Linked DNA regions of Homo sapiens: region 2 is linked to region 1. Evidence: promoter capture Hi-C in 16 types of primary human blood cells and fetal thymus (Javierre and others, 2016). All regions are on one chromosome and are shown on one strand. Each heading gives the region's core, a stretch centred on a gene start or on the middle of the fragment in contact. The rest is flanking DNA. Distances are from core to core; before and after follow the strand shown.

Evidence for each region. The method cuts DNA at HindIII sites, captures the fragments that hold promoters and counts their contacts. A CHiCAGO score of 5 or more calls a contact.
Region 2: a contact is called between a fragment that was not itself captured here and the fragment with the promoter of MRPL4 in region 1, in 1 of 17 cell types (naive B cells). The highest score is 5.1, in naive B cells.

Annotation. Positions count from the first base shown.
Region 1 is chr19:10,249,742-10,256,208 of GRCh38, reverse strand. MRPL4 (mitochondrial ribosomal protein L4) reads right to left here and starts at 3,995. Exons shown (of 9, transcript NM_015956.3): 1 at 3,899-3,995; 2 at 3,746-3,812; 3 at 3,508-3,658; 4 at 1,569-1,620. The coding sequence starts at 3,955. RefSeq lists enhancers at 3,493-4,066, 3,923-4,332, 4,463-4,612, 4,067-4,640 and a silencer at 6,010-6,059. The HindIII fragment of the contact is 20,723 bases long and covers 1-6,089 here.
Region 2 is chr19:9,621,042-9,627,508 of GRCh38, reverse strand. ZNF561-AS1 (ZNF561 antisense RNA 1) reads right to left here and starts at 6,027. Exons shown (of 4, transcript NR_122038.1): 1 at 5,864-6,027; 2 at 649-725. It overlaps ZNF561 (zinc finger protein 561), which reads left to right and starts at 6,277. Exons shown (of 6, transcript NM_152289.3): 1 at 6,277-6,347. RefSeq lists an enhancer at 5,948-6,367. The HindIII fragment of the contact is 3,033 bases long and covers 1,497-4,529 here.

The DNA of each region.
Region 1 (6,467 bases), core at 2,746-5,245:
GTTCAAGCAATTCTCCTGTCTCAGCCTCCAGAGTAGCTGGGACTACAGGCGCCCGCTGCCACACCCAACTAATATTTGTATTTTTAGTAGAGATGGGGTTTCACCATATTGGTCAGGCTGGTCTCGATCTCCCGACCTCGTGATCCATCCGCCTCGGCCTCCCAAAGTACTGGGATTACAGGTGTGAGCCACCGCACCTGGCCCCAGCTAATTTTTTGTATTTTCAGTAGAGATGGGGTTTTGCCACGTTGACTAGGCTGGTTTGGAACTCCTGGCCTCAAGTGATCCACCTGCCTTGGCCTCCCAAAGTGCTGAGATTACAGGTGTGAGCCACCGTGCCGGCCTATTTTTTGAACAATTTTAATGTGGTTGTAGCCACAAGGAGGGAGGGCCATGGGAAATGACACAGACAGGGAGAATCAGGAAAGAGGAGCAGGGCAAGGAAATCAGGAAGAACTCAGAATAGCAGACTGATGACTTTATTCCTAGGGTGATGGGGAGCCAGGGAAGGTGTGAGCAGGGGGAGGACTGGCCAGACCTCTGGGGTGGATGGATAAGACCCTGACTGGTAATGGATTCTTCAATGTTCTTGGCACAAAACCCAGACTCCTCCCCACTGCTCCCACTGGCCTCTGTGGCAACACTGGCTTCCTTGTGGTCCCTGCCACAGGGCCTTTGCACACCCTGTTCCTGTTATCTCCACACTAGCCCCACTGCCTCCTTGATCTGGTTAGCTTCTACAGTAGACCCAAGGTTGAACGTCCCATTCTCTGGGACATGCTCATAATTACACATTACGTATGACCATCTGACTCACCTTCACTTCTCCTCCCATGACACTGTGACCTTCATTAGAATAGGGACTTTGCCCATCTTTTTCTTGGGGTTGTGGGGGAAGGGGTAGAGACTGGGTCTTGCTGTTTCCCAGGCTGGTCTTTCCTGGCCCCAAGCAACCCACCCACCTCAGCTTCCAGTGCTGGGATTACAGGCCTGAGCCACTTGCACACAGCCGGACCTTGCCTGTTTTGTCCTCGTGGTCCCTGCTATATCCTCTCACCCACCACAATGCCCACATCAGTGAGTGATCAGAAAACAACTGAAAATGAGCTGGGCACGGTGGCTCACGCCTGTAATCCCAGCACTTTGGGAGGCCAAGGCAGGTAGGTTCCTTGAGGTCAGGAGTTTGAGACCAGCCTGACCAACATGGTGAAACTCCATCTCTACTAAAAATACAAAAATTAGCCTGCATGGTGGTGCACACCTGTAATCCCAGCTACTCAGGAGGCAGAGGCAGGAGAATCGCTTGAACCCAGGAAGCGGAGGTTGCAGTGAACCAAGATTGCGCCACTGCACTCCAGCCTGGGTGACAGAGTGAGACTCCATCTCCATCTCAAAAACAAACAAAAAAAAGAGAACCAAAAATGGACCCATCGGTGAATAGTTCAGGAGACAGATGAGGCCCCAGCCGAGCAGTCCAGAGAAAACCCAGCGATGGGCTTCCTCTGGGTCCTATCCCCAACCTCCCCAGGAAGCTCCTTCCCACCACCTTGCTCCATTTAGGCACTCACAATTCTCTTGAAGTTCTTCTGCCACATAGCAACCTGGTGCAGTATGTCCAGCCTGCGGGGAGGAAGGACACATGAGAAGCCCAACTCTGCTTCAAACGCTCCCACCCCACTATAGGAAAACCCAGGATTCTCCCTTCTGCCTCCAGGGCCCTGGGCGATTTGCCTCTGCCCCTCACTGACCCCATCTTGAAATTCTGCCTCAGGGCCTTGGCACTTGCTGTTCCCTCTGCCTGAAACACTCTTCTCCTGGATGGTTCTTTCTCAGCCTACAGGTAGCAGCTCCAATAACTGCTGAAAGGTACCTTCTAAAGAAAGAGCCACCCTGACCAGGTGCAGTGGCTCATGCCTGGAATCCTGGCACTTTGGGAGGCCAAGGCAGGTGGATCACTTGAGGCAAGGAGTAAGACCAGCCTGGGCAACATGGCAAAGTGATGTCTCTCCAAAATATACAAAGATTAGCTGGGCACGGTGGTACATGTCTGTCATTCTGGCTACTCGGGAGGCTGAGGCATGAGAATTAGTAGAACCCAGGAGGCGGAGGTTGAAGTGAGCTGAGAGCATGCCATTGCACTCCAGCCTGGGCGACAAGAGCGAAACTTCATCTCAGAAAAAAAAAGCCACCCCTTCTTCCTTGTTTTTCCTACCATTACTTTTTTCCTGCTATTACACTTCACTTATTGCCACCTTCTTCAGGGACTGGTTTTCCTCTCTAGTTCTATACCATTCCATACAGTCACATACTCAACATCTGAAACATGGCCAGTGCCCCATGCTACAATGTGATTTCGACATAGTTTTAAATACAGGTTAAATACATTATTGAAATCAATTTCACCTGTTTTTTTTTTTGAGATGGAGTCTGTCTCTGTCGCCCAGGCTGGAGTGCAGTAGTATAATCACGGCTCACTGCAACCTCCATCTCCCCAGGTGCAAGCGATTCTCATGCCTCAGCCTCCTGAGTAGCTGGGACTACAGGCTTGCACTAAGACGTCCGGCTAATTTTTGTATTTTTGGTAGAGACGGGGTTTCATCATGTTGGCCAGGCTGGTCTGCAACTCCTGGTTTCAAGTGATCCGCCCACCTCGGCCTCCCAATGTGCTGGGATTACAGATGTGAGCCACAGTAACTGGCCCCTACATTTTCTTTTCTTTCTTTTTTTTTTTTTTTTTTGAGACAGAGTGTTGCCCAGGATGGAGTGCAGTGGCGCGATCTCGGCTCACTGCAAGCTCCGCCTCCCGGGTTCACGCCATTCTCTTGCCTCAGCCTCCAGAGTACCTGGGACTACAGACGCCCGCCACCACGCCCGGCTAATTTTTTTTTGTATTTTTAGTAGAGACGGGGTTTCACCATGTTAGCCAGGATGGTCTCGATCTCCTGACCTCGTGATCCGCCCGCCTTGGCCTCCCAAAGTGCTGGGATTACAGGCGTGAGCCACTGCGCCCAGGGTGGCCCCTACATTTTCTTAGAGATGTTATGAACAGCAGGGTAACTAAAATGCAAACAGCCTCTTCCAGGCACCGAGGAATGGTTTAGTCTTTTTAGTGCTCTTATTTGCAAAAACCAGTTAACAAAGATTATCAACATTTCTATAGAACTTATTATGTGCCAGAATTAAGTCATTTATTCATCACAGCAACCTCCCGACCGCTGACAAAATAGGGACACTGAGGGACAAGAGGGGAAGGCAGGATTTGAACCTAATCAGTCGGGCTCCAGAATTCTGTCTCCCTAACCCTTAGATGATGTCACCTCTCAGGCTTCAATCTCACACAGCGCTACAGCAGGGGAAACTGTCATCATTCCCCTTTGACAGGTGGAGAAACGGAGGCTGTAGAAATACAGCACTTTCCCAAGGGTACAAGCCCAAAGTCATCGTGACTCCTGAAATCCCGCTCTTCATCCCTCTGCCACTCAGTTCACCATTACAGCCCTCGCTCACCTGGGCGCGGTGGCGAAAACATCGGGGTGCAGGTCGGCCAGGCCCACGCGCTCCTGCTCGAAGCCCCGCAAGGACTCGACCCAGGCCTGCACTGGGCGTCGATGAGTGGGTACCGGGAGCTCGACTTTGCGCAGCACGGGCTCCGGGAGACCTGGAGCGATTGCGGGGGTCAGAGGTTAGGGTCAAGGGTCAGACCTCTCTGTCGCCGCCCCTCCTGGAGCCACCCCGGTTGCCTTACCCTCGCTCGCCACCTGCTCCGGGTTCTCGGTCGCACGCGCTGCCTCTTCCGCCAGGGAACTCAGGCCCTGCAAGGGTTGGGCGAAAGTGAGAGACGACCCCTGGACACCCCCAAATTTCATCCTTCGACCACGCCTCCAGCCCCTGGCCTCACCTGGCTGCCGGTAGGCCGAAGCCAGGCCCGCGCCCCGGCCCGGACGAACTGCAGCATCGCCGCGCAGCCTCCCACGCCGCGGGAGGTCAAGGCCACTGGAGCCTCGCGAGGCGCCGCTGGATGACGTCACGCACGCGACGCCGCCCTACCCGCCGCGACTCCGCGCTGGAAAGCGGGGTGTGCAAAACCGAAGATGGAGGGGGTCCGACCCGGCGTGCCCAGACCTCCACCCCAGGACTAACCCCCAGACCCAATTTTCACTCCTGCCTCAAGGACCCTCCGTAACACTGGGGAACGCGACCTCACAGCAAGAAGACCCAGCTTCCGTAGGCCTAGCCTACTTTGGGTCCCGCCTCCGACGAGCCGGTGCAGGAATTCAGCCAATGAGACCTCTCTGGCCCAATTCAGCCAATGACTGTTAAGCCTGAAGGAGTGACCCCCGCCCATAAGTGGGCAGTTCTGGAGTGAGCAACTAAGGAATACAGCCAATAACGCTTAAACTTTTGCTGTTGGTCACGCCCACCGGGCCACGCCTTCATCCCGCCTCCAAGGCTGTCGGAGATGGTTTTTTCTTTATCCAGTTATGTGGTTTTGTTTTTTTATTTGTTTTTTTGTTTTTGTTTTTGTTTTTGTTTTTGTTTTTTTTGAGACGGAGTCTTGCTCTGTTGCCCAGGCTGGAGTGCAGTGGCGCGATCTCGGCTCACTGCAAGCTCCGCCTCCTGGGTTCACGCCATTCTCCTGCCTCAGCCTCCCGAGTAGCTGGGACTGCAGGCGCCCGCCACCACGCCTGGCTAATTTTTTGTATTTTTAGTAGAGACGGGTATCACCGCGTTAGCCAGGATGGTCTCGATCTCCTGACCTCGTGATCCTCCCGCCTCAGCCTTCCAAAGTGCTGGGATTACAGGCGTGAGCCACCGTGCCTGGCGTTTTTTCATTTGTTTAAAGGCAGGGCCTTATTGCCCTCAGAAAGCCTTCAGGATTGGGCCTGCCAGACCATGCCTCCCAGTTTAGATTCCCCAGGGCAGGGCCATGTCCCCCCGAAACCCCTCAGATTAGGTATTTGTGTCCCTTACCCCCTAGACCAGGGTCCTCTCCCCTACCCCCTTAAACCAGGTCCCGTCCCCTCTCAGACCTTCCAGGGCTCTCCAAGGACAGAACAAAGTGGGGAGTCCACAGATCCTGGAGTGCCTCCCTTGTCGCCCCCTAACAAATCCGAATGCTTATTTTTAGTTTCTTTGTTTTGGTTTTTAGAGACAAGGTCTTCCTCTGTCGCCCAGGCTGGAGTGCAATGGGCAAGATCATGGCTTACTGCAGCCTCGACCTCCAGAGCTCAAGGGATTCTCCTGCCTCTGTCTCCTGAGTAGCTGGTCTACAGGTACGCAAGCCCGGCTCATTTTTGTATTGTATTTTTTTATTTTGTATTTGTATTTTGAGATGGAGTATCGCTCTGTCGCCCAGGCCGGAGTGCAGTGGTGTGAGATCGCACATCTCGGCCTCCCGGGTTCAAGCGATTCCCTGCCTCAGCTTACCGAGTAGCTGGGACTACAGGCGCCCGCCACCACACCTGGCTAACTTTTTGTATTTTTAGTAGAGAGGGGGTTTCACCGTGTTAGCCAGGATGGTCTCAATCTCCTGACCTCGTGATCCGCCCGCCTCGGCTTCCCAAAGTGCTGGGATTACAGGCGTGAGCCACCGAGCCCGGCCCTAATTTTCGTGTTTTTATTAGAGACAGTGTGGCACCACGTTGGCCAGGCTGGTCTTGAACTCCTGACCTCAGGTGATCCACCCGCCTCGGCCTCCCAAAGTGCTGGGATTACAGGCCTGAGCCACCGCGCCCGGCCTAATTTTTTTTTTGTAGAGATGGCGGGGGGTGGGTCTCCCAATGTTGCCCAGGCTGGTCTTGAACTCCTGGGCTCAAGCAATTCTCCCGCATTGGTCCCCCAAAGTGCTGGGATTACAGGCATGAGCTACTGTGGCCCACCCATTTTTAGGTTCTTTACCATGTTCCCGATAGACCTCCAGGGGGCGCCACCGGATCATAGCCGGCTTCCCTACCAGTCCAGGGCTGTCTACTTGGAGGCCAGTGCGTTCTGGACAGAGCACAGCTGACAACGTGGTCTGTGAACCAACCTCATTTTCCTCTGCTGGAAAAGGAGGTTATGAGATTCAGTGACGTAATGGAGGCAAAGCTTCCCATGCCTGGTACAAGGTGTAAAGTCAATAAATAGCATTATTATTATTTTTTTTTTGAGACAGAATCTCACTCTGTTGCCCAGGCTGGAGTGCAGTAGCGCGATCTTGGCTCACTGCAACCTCTGCCTCCTGGGTTCAAGCGATTCTCCTGCCTCAGCCTCCCGAGTAGCTGGGATTACAGGCGCCCGCCACTACGCCCAGCTAATTTTTATTTTTATTTTTTATTTTTAGTAGAGACAGGGTTTCACCATTTTGGCCAGGCTGGTCTCGAACTCCCGACCTCAGGTGATCCACCCGACTCGGCCTCCCAAAGTGCTGGGATTACAGGCGTGAGCCACCGCGCCTGGCCTCTACCAAAAATTTAAAAATTAGCTAG
Region 2 (6,467 bases), core at 1,764-4,263, 630 kb after region 1:
ATGGATCAAAAACCTTAGTGTAGTGTAAGAGCTAGAGCTGGAAAACTATTAGAAGAAAACATAGGTGAGAAAGCTTCAACTGGAAATGACTTCTCAGTTATGACATCAACCACACAGGCAACACAAGAAAAATTATGAGTTGAACCTAATCAATGATACAAATTTTGTGCATCAAAGCATAATAACAAGAGAGTAAAAAGACAATCTACAAATGGGAGAAAATATTTGCAAGTCCTGTATCTGACTGGGGACAAATATCCAGAGTTTATTTTTAAAATTTCTAGAACCCAAGAGTAACAACAACAAAACTCATTTCAATACAGAAAAAGGACTTGAATAATATCACCAAAGAAGATATACAGATGGCCAATAAACACACGAAAAGATGCTCATGAAACGATGCTCAACATCACTAAACATCATGAAAATGAAAATCAAAACCATGCTGGATGTGATGGCTCACACCTGTAATCCCAGCACTTCGGGAGGCTGAGGCCAGGGGATTCCTTGAGATTAGGACTTCAGGACCAGCCTGGGCATATGGTGAAATATGGTCTTTACAAAAAAATTTTTTTTAATTCAGCCAAGGATGGTGGTGGCATGCACCTGTAATCTCTGCTACCTGGGAGGTTGAGGTGGGAGGATTACCTGAGCCCAGTAAGTTGAGGACTGCAGTGATCCATGATCACGTCACTGCATTCGAGCCTAGACAATAGAGTGAGACCCTGTCTCAAAAAAAAGAAAAAAAAAGAACGATTAAACAGAATTACCATGTGATCCAGATATTCCACTTTGGCATATCCAAAACTGTTCAGAGCAGGGACTCAGAGATATTTGTACACCAATGTTTGTCTCACTAGTATTCACAATAGCCTACCCCTGCCAAACTGCAATTTTAACACACTGGATTGTTTGAAACATAGCCTGAACAAGCCTATTTTTAGCCATTTCGAGTGCGCCTGCTTTGTATTCTCTGAAATTATATCCAATATCTGACAGCCATAGATAAGATAACTCCAGGGCTATGAAAACCCCATACCCCTGCGGTCCTTCAGAGCTTTTTTTTTTTTTTTTTTCTGATGCAGGGTCTTGCTCTGCCACCCAGGCTGGAGTACAGGGGCACAATCTCAGCTCACTGCAGCCTCCATCTCCTGGGTTCAAGCGATTCTCCTGCCTCAGCCTCCCAAGTAGCTGGGATTATAGGCACCTGGCACCATACCTGCTAATTTTTGTATTTTTAGTAGAGACGGAGTTTCACCATATTGGCCAGACTTATCCTTCAGAGCTTTTTAACTGGAAGATATGCTGCCAGTCTGGTGAATATCATCATTTAGTTATTTATAAGCCCCCTCTTTGATTCCCCTTCTCCTCTGAGAGTCTTTCTTCCTTTCCACCCTTTCTGAGCAGCGACCCACAGGTAGAAGCCTGTGGATATTCTCTTGCTGTTTGCTACCTCCCCCACTGCTAACCTGTCAAAGCACATCCCAAATGAAGCTTGTGTGCTACTGCCGCCTTGTGGTAACATCTTTTTCCTTACTCAGCCAAGAAATCACTTAAACACCCTAAATACGTGTGTGGTTTTATTTTTTACACTTAGATCCCTAGTCCACTTGGAGTTTATTCTTGTATATGCTGTGAAGTATGGATTTAATTTCATCTTTTCTCAGATGGCTAACCAGCTATCTTAGACCTTCCATTTGTTACAAATGGCATTTTTTGCCCCATTTATCTGAAATGCCACTTTTTTTTTTTAGACGGTGTTTCTCTCTTGTTGCCCTGGCTGGAATGCAATGGCACGATCTCCACTCACCCCAACCTCCGCCTCCTGGGTTCAAGCGGTTCTCCTGCCTCAGCTTCCTGAGTACCTGGGATTATAAGCATGTGCCACCATGCCCAGCTAATTTTGTATTTTTAGCAGAGACGGGGTTTCTTCATGTTGGTCAGGATGGTCTCTAACTCGTGACCTCAGGTGATCCACCCGCCTCTGCCTCCAAAAGTGCTGGAATTATAGGCATCAGCCAATGCACCCGGCTTTTTTTTTTTTTTTTTTTTTTTTTTTTGAGACAGAGTCTCGCTGTGTCGCCAGGCTGGAGTGAAATGGCGTGATCTCGGCTCACTGCAACCTCTGCCTCCCAGGTTTGAGCAATTCTCTTGCCTCAGCCACCCGAGTAGCTGGGCTTACAGGCGCCCACCACAACGCTTGGCTAATTTTTTTTTTTTTTTTTTTAGACGGAGTCTCGCTCTATCGCCAGGCTGGAGTGCAGGGGAGCGATCTTGGCTCACTGCAACCTCCGCCTCCTGGGTTCAAGCGATTCTCCTACTTCGGCCTCCTGAGTAGCTGGGATTACAGGCACCCGCCACCATGCCAGCTAATTTTTCTATTTTTAGTAGAGACGGGGTTTCACCAAGTTGGCCAGGATGGTCTCGATCTCGTGACGTCGTGATCTGCCTGCCTCAGCCTCCCAAAGTGCTGGGATTACAGGCATGAGCCAGCATGCTCGGCCATGCTTGGCTAAATTTTTTTTCTTTTTTGAGACAGAGTCTCACTCTGTTGCCCAGGCTGGAGTGCAGTGGTGCGATCTCAGCTTACTGCAACCTCCGCCTTCTGGGTTCAAGCAATTCTCCTGCCTCAGCCTCCTGAGTAGCTGAGATTACAGGCATGCATCACCACACCCAGCTAATTTTTGTATTTTTAGTAGAGATGGGATTTCACCATGTTGGTCAGACTAGTCTCGAACTCCTGACCTCATGATCCGGCTGCCTCGGCTTCCCAAAGTTCTGGGATTACAGGCATGAGCCACCGAACCCGGCTATGTTTTTGTATTTTTAATAGAGATGGGGTTTCACCATGTTGGGCAGGCTGGTTTTGAACTCCTGACCTCAAGTGATCCTCCTGCCTCAGTCTCCCAAATTGCTAGGATACAGGCATGAGCCACCGCATCTGGCAAAATACATTTATGAACCAAATTTCTACATGTTCATGGGTCTATTTTTTGATATTTTATTAGTTTCTGTTTCACGTGCTAGTACCACATAGTTTTAATTATAGAGGCTTTATAGTATGTTTTTTAAATTAATTAATTAATTAATTTTTTAGACAGAGTCTCACTCTGTCAGCCAGGCTGCAATTCAGTGGCACAATCTCGGCTCACTGCAACCTTCATCTCCCAGGCTCAAGCAACTCTCCTGCCTCAGCCTCCCAAGTAGCTGGGATTACAAGCATGTGCCACCACGCTTGCTAATTTTTGTACTTCTAGTAGAGACAGGGTTTCACCATGTTAGCCAGGCTGGTATCAAACCCCCGACTTCAGGTAATTTGCCTGCCTCGGCCTCCCAAATTGCTGGGATTACAGGCGTGAGCCACTGTGCCCGGACTTTATTTTTATTTTAAAATAATGTAATTCTTTGCCTTGCATGAAAACTGTCAATAGTATGTTTTAATATCTGCTGCTCATCATTGCTTTTGTTTTTGTTTTCTTGGTTATTATCAGATGTTTGTTCCTCCACATAAACTTCAGTATCAATGTACTTAACTCCAGAAAAAAACTTTTGGTATTTTTATTGGGAGTATGTTACATTTCTGAATAATCTTGGGGAGAATGTCTGGTATCAGTGCTATTTTACAACGTAGGAAATGTGTTCCTGGCCCATGTGGTAAGATCAGAAAAATAACAACAGAAATACATATTTTTGGCTGGGGCAGTGGCTCATGCCTGTAATCCCAGCTCTTTGGGAGGACCAGGTGGATGGATCACGAGGTCAGGACTTTGAGACCAGCTGGGTCAATATGATGAAACCATGTCTGTATTAAAAATGCAAAAATTAGTTGGGCGCAGTGGCACATGCCTGTAGTCCCAACTACTCAGGAGGCTGAGGCAGAAGAATGGCTTGAACCCAGGAGGCAGAGTTTGCAGTGAGTGAAGATCGCACCACTGCACTCCAGTCTGGGTGGCAGAGCGAAACTATGTCTCAAAAAAACAAAACAAAACAAAACATTTTTTAATTTAAATTTTTTTTATATATATATAGAGAGATGGGGTTTTGCTGTGTAGCCCAGGCTTGTCTTAAACTCCTGGCCTTAAACGATCCTACCATCTTGGCCTGGCAGATATTTTAGGCCAGGAGTTCGAGATCAGCCTGGCCAACCTGGTGAAATCGTTCTCTACTAAAAATACAAAAATTAGCTGGGCGTGGTGGCAGGCGCCTGTAATCCCAGCTACTCCAGAGGCTGAGGCAGGAGAATTGCTTGAACCTGGGAGGTGGAGGTTGCGGTGAGCTGAGATCACACCACTGCACTCCAGCCTGGTCTGATCCAGTGAGATCTGTCGCAAGCAAGCAAGCAAGCAAGAAAGAAAAAGAAAACCCAATGGAATCAGCAGGTTCTAAAAAATAAAGAATGAAGAAAAAAAGGCCTACAGAAACTCTGACTGAATGGAAGGGATAGACCATGCCATTCATTGGCAGCTTTATCAATATGGAAGAATCATGGAAAGGCTCTAGGAACATGAGGAGAGGCATACAAACAAGCTTTATATTTATATCTAAAAAGTAAAGCAGAGGTTCCTCTTCAAAGACGTTCCTTCACATTTAATTAGGAATAAATAGTAACTTCTCTTAGAAGCAAAATTTATTCAAAGACCTGTGCTAACATTCTCAAGTATCTGTGAGCCGTGATAAAGAAATCAATGTACTTTATATTCTTAGCTCCCACAGTTTAGTCTACATATTTGCCCTGGCATGCTTGTACTGGTCCAGGCAAGCATTAGGGCATAGCCTGTTCTTTTTCCTTATTTGAAGATGTTTTGACCCTTCTCAGCATTCCACAAGTTACTTCCTCCTTCCTTTGTTCTCCTCTACCCTTGCCTCTTTTAAAAAGTTATAAGTTGCTAGCCAGAACGTGAGGTCCCATTCCAGCCAGTGGAAACTGGACACAGCAGTAGGTTGGAAGCATCAGGTTATAAATGACCCTATCTCCTTTGTTTGGTGTACTCTCGTGGCAAAACTGCTGGTGAGTATACCGTTTCTGCAGGAAGTAAAAATGGCCTTGCTGAGTAAATTAAATTTATGTTCAAGTGCTAATTTCTTTATGGCACCAGGGAACAAGCATTTTGAACATGTATATTTATATATTTTTTATATATTTATATATTTATATGTATTTATACATATATGTTTATATATATATATATAGAGAGAGAGAGAGAGAGAGAGACAGGGTCTTGCTACTTTGCCCAGGCTGGTCTCAAACTCTTGGACTTGTAGAAAATGAAATAAATACAGGTTCCTCTTCAAAGGGACTTTCCTCCCAGTCTGATTGAAATAAATAGTAATCCCTCTTAGAAGCCAAATTTTCTCAAAGACCTGTGGTAATATTGTTAAATTCTGCCAGCCGTAATAAAGAAATCAATAGACTCTGTTTTTAGCTCCCACATTTTAGCCTAGATATTTGCCCTGGCATGCCTGAACTGGTCCAAGCAACTATTAGGTCATGGCCTATTCCTTTCCCTATTTAGAAGTGTTTTTGCCTCTCTCAACAGTCCACAAGTTACTTCCTCTCTTCCTTTGTTCTCCTCTGCCATTGCCTCTTTTGGGAAGTTCTAAGTTGCTAGCCAATCCAGTGAAGTACAGGAAGGTGAGGTCCCGTTCCAGCCAATGGAAGCTGGACACAGCAGAAGGATGGACACTTCAAGTTTAAAAAAACCCTGTCTCCTTTGTTAATGTGTGCTCTGGTGGCAAGACTGCCAGCCAGTGGCACCCATTCTGCAGAAAGTAAAACTAGCCTTGCTGAGATCCTTTGTCTCAGTGTTGATTTTGTGACACCAAGCGAGCACCCATTCCCAGCAGACTCAAGCTATTTACCTACCTTAGCCTCCCAAAGTGCAGGAATTACAGGCGTGAGCCACTGCGCTCGCCCGATAAAAGCTTTGGAGGAGCATCCCCCGGGGATGCGTCCCATCCCTCATCCCCGCCCTTCCAGCCCGACCGGCCACCTGAACCACCGGCTAGGCCGGGTCCCTCCTCTAAATCACCCCCCGAGTACGAGCCCCTCCCCTCGCCCACAGTTCCGTCTGGAGGCCCGGTTCTAACCTCACCTTTTTCTCTGGACCTAGTTCTGCATCCCCCTCCCTGAGCCAACCCCAGGCCCTTTCTGCACCCACCCGAGAGGAAACTAGAATTTCTGTGTTCTACCCGGTCCTACGTGGCTGAAACTGGAGCCCACGAGCCTCGCCCGGCCAGAGTGTTGAAGCGGAAGTGACGTCAGCGCACCACCGCCATCTTTTCCGGCGCTGGCTCCTCTCCGTCAGTGCGGTTTCGCCTTTATGGTGGTGGAGTCTGCCCAGGCTGTGGTGAGTTCCACCTCCTTGGCGGTCCCGGGGATAGCAGGGGGCGGCAAAGGAATGATTGCGCGCTGTCGCCTAGGAGCCTCTCAGATCCGCTTCACTTCACTCGCTTCTCCAGGGACTATC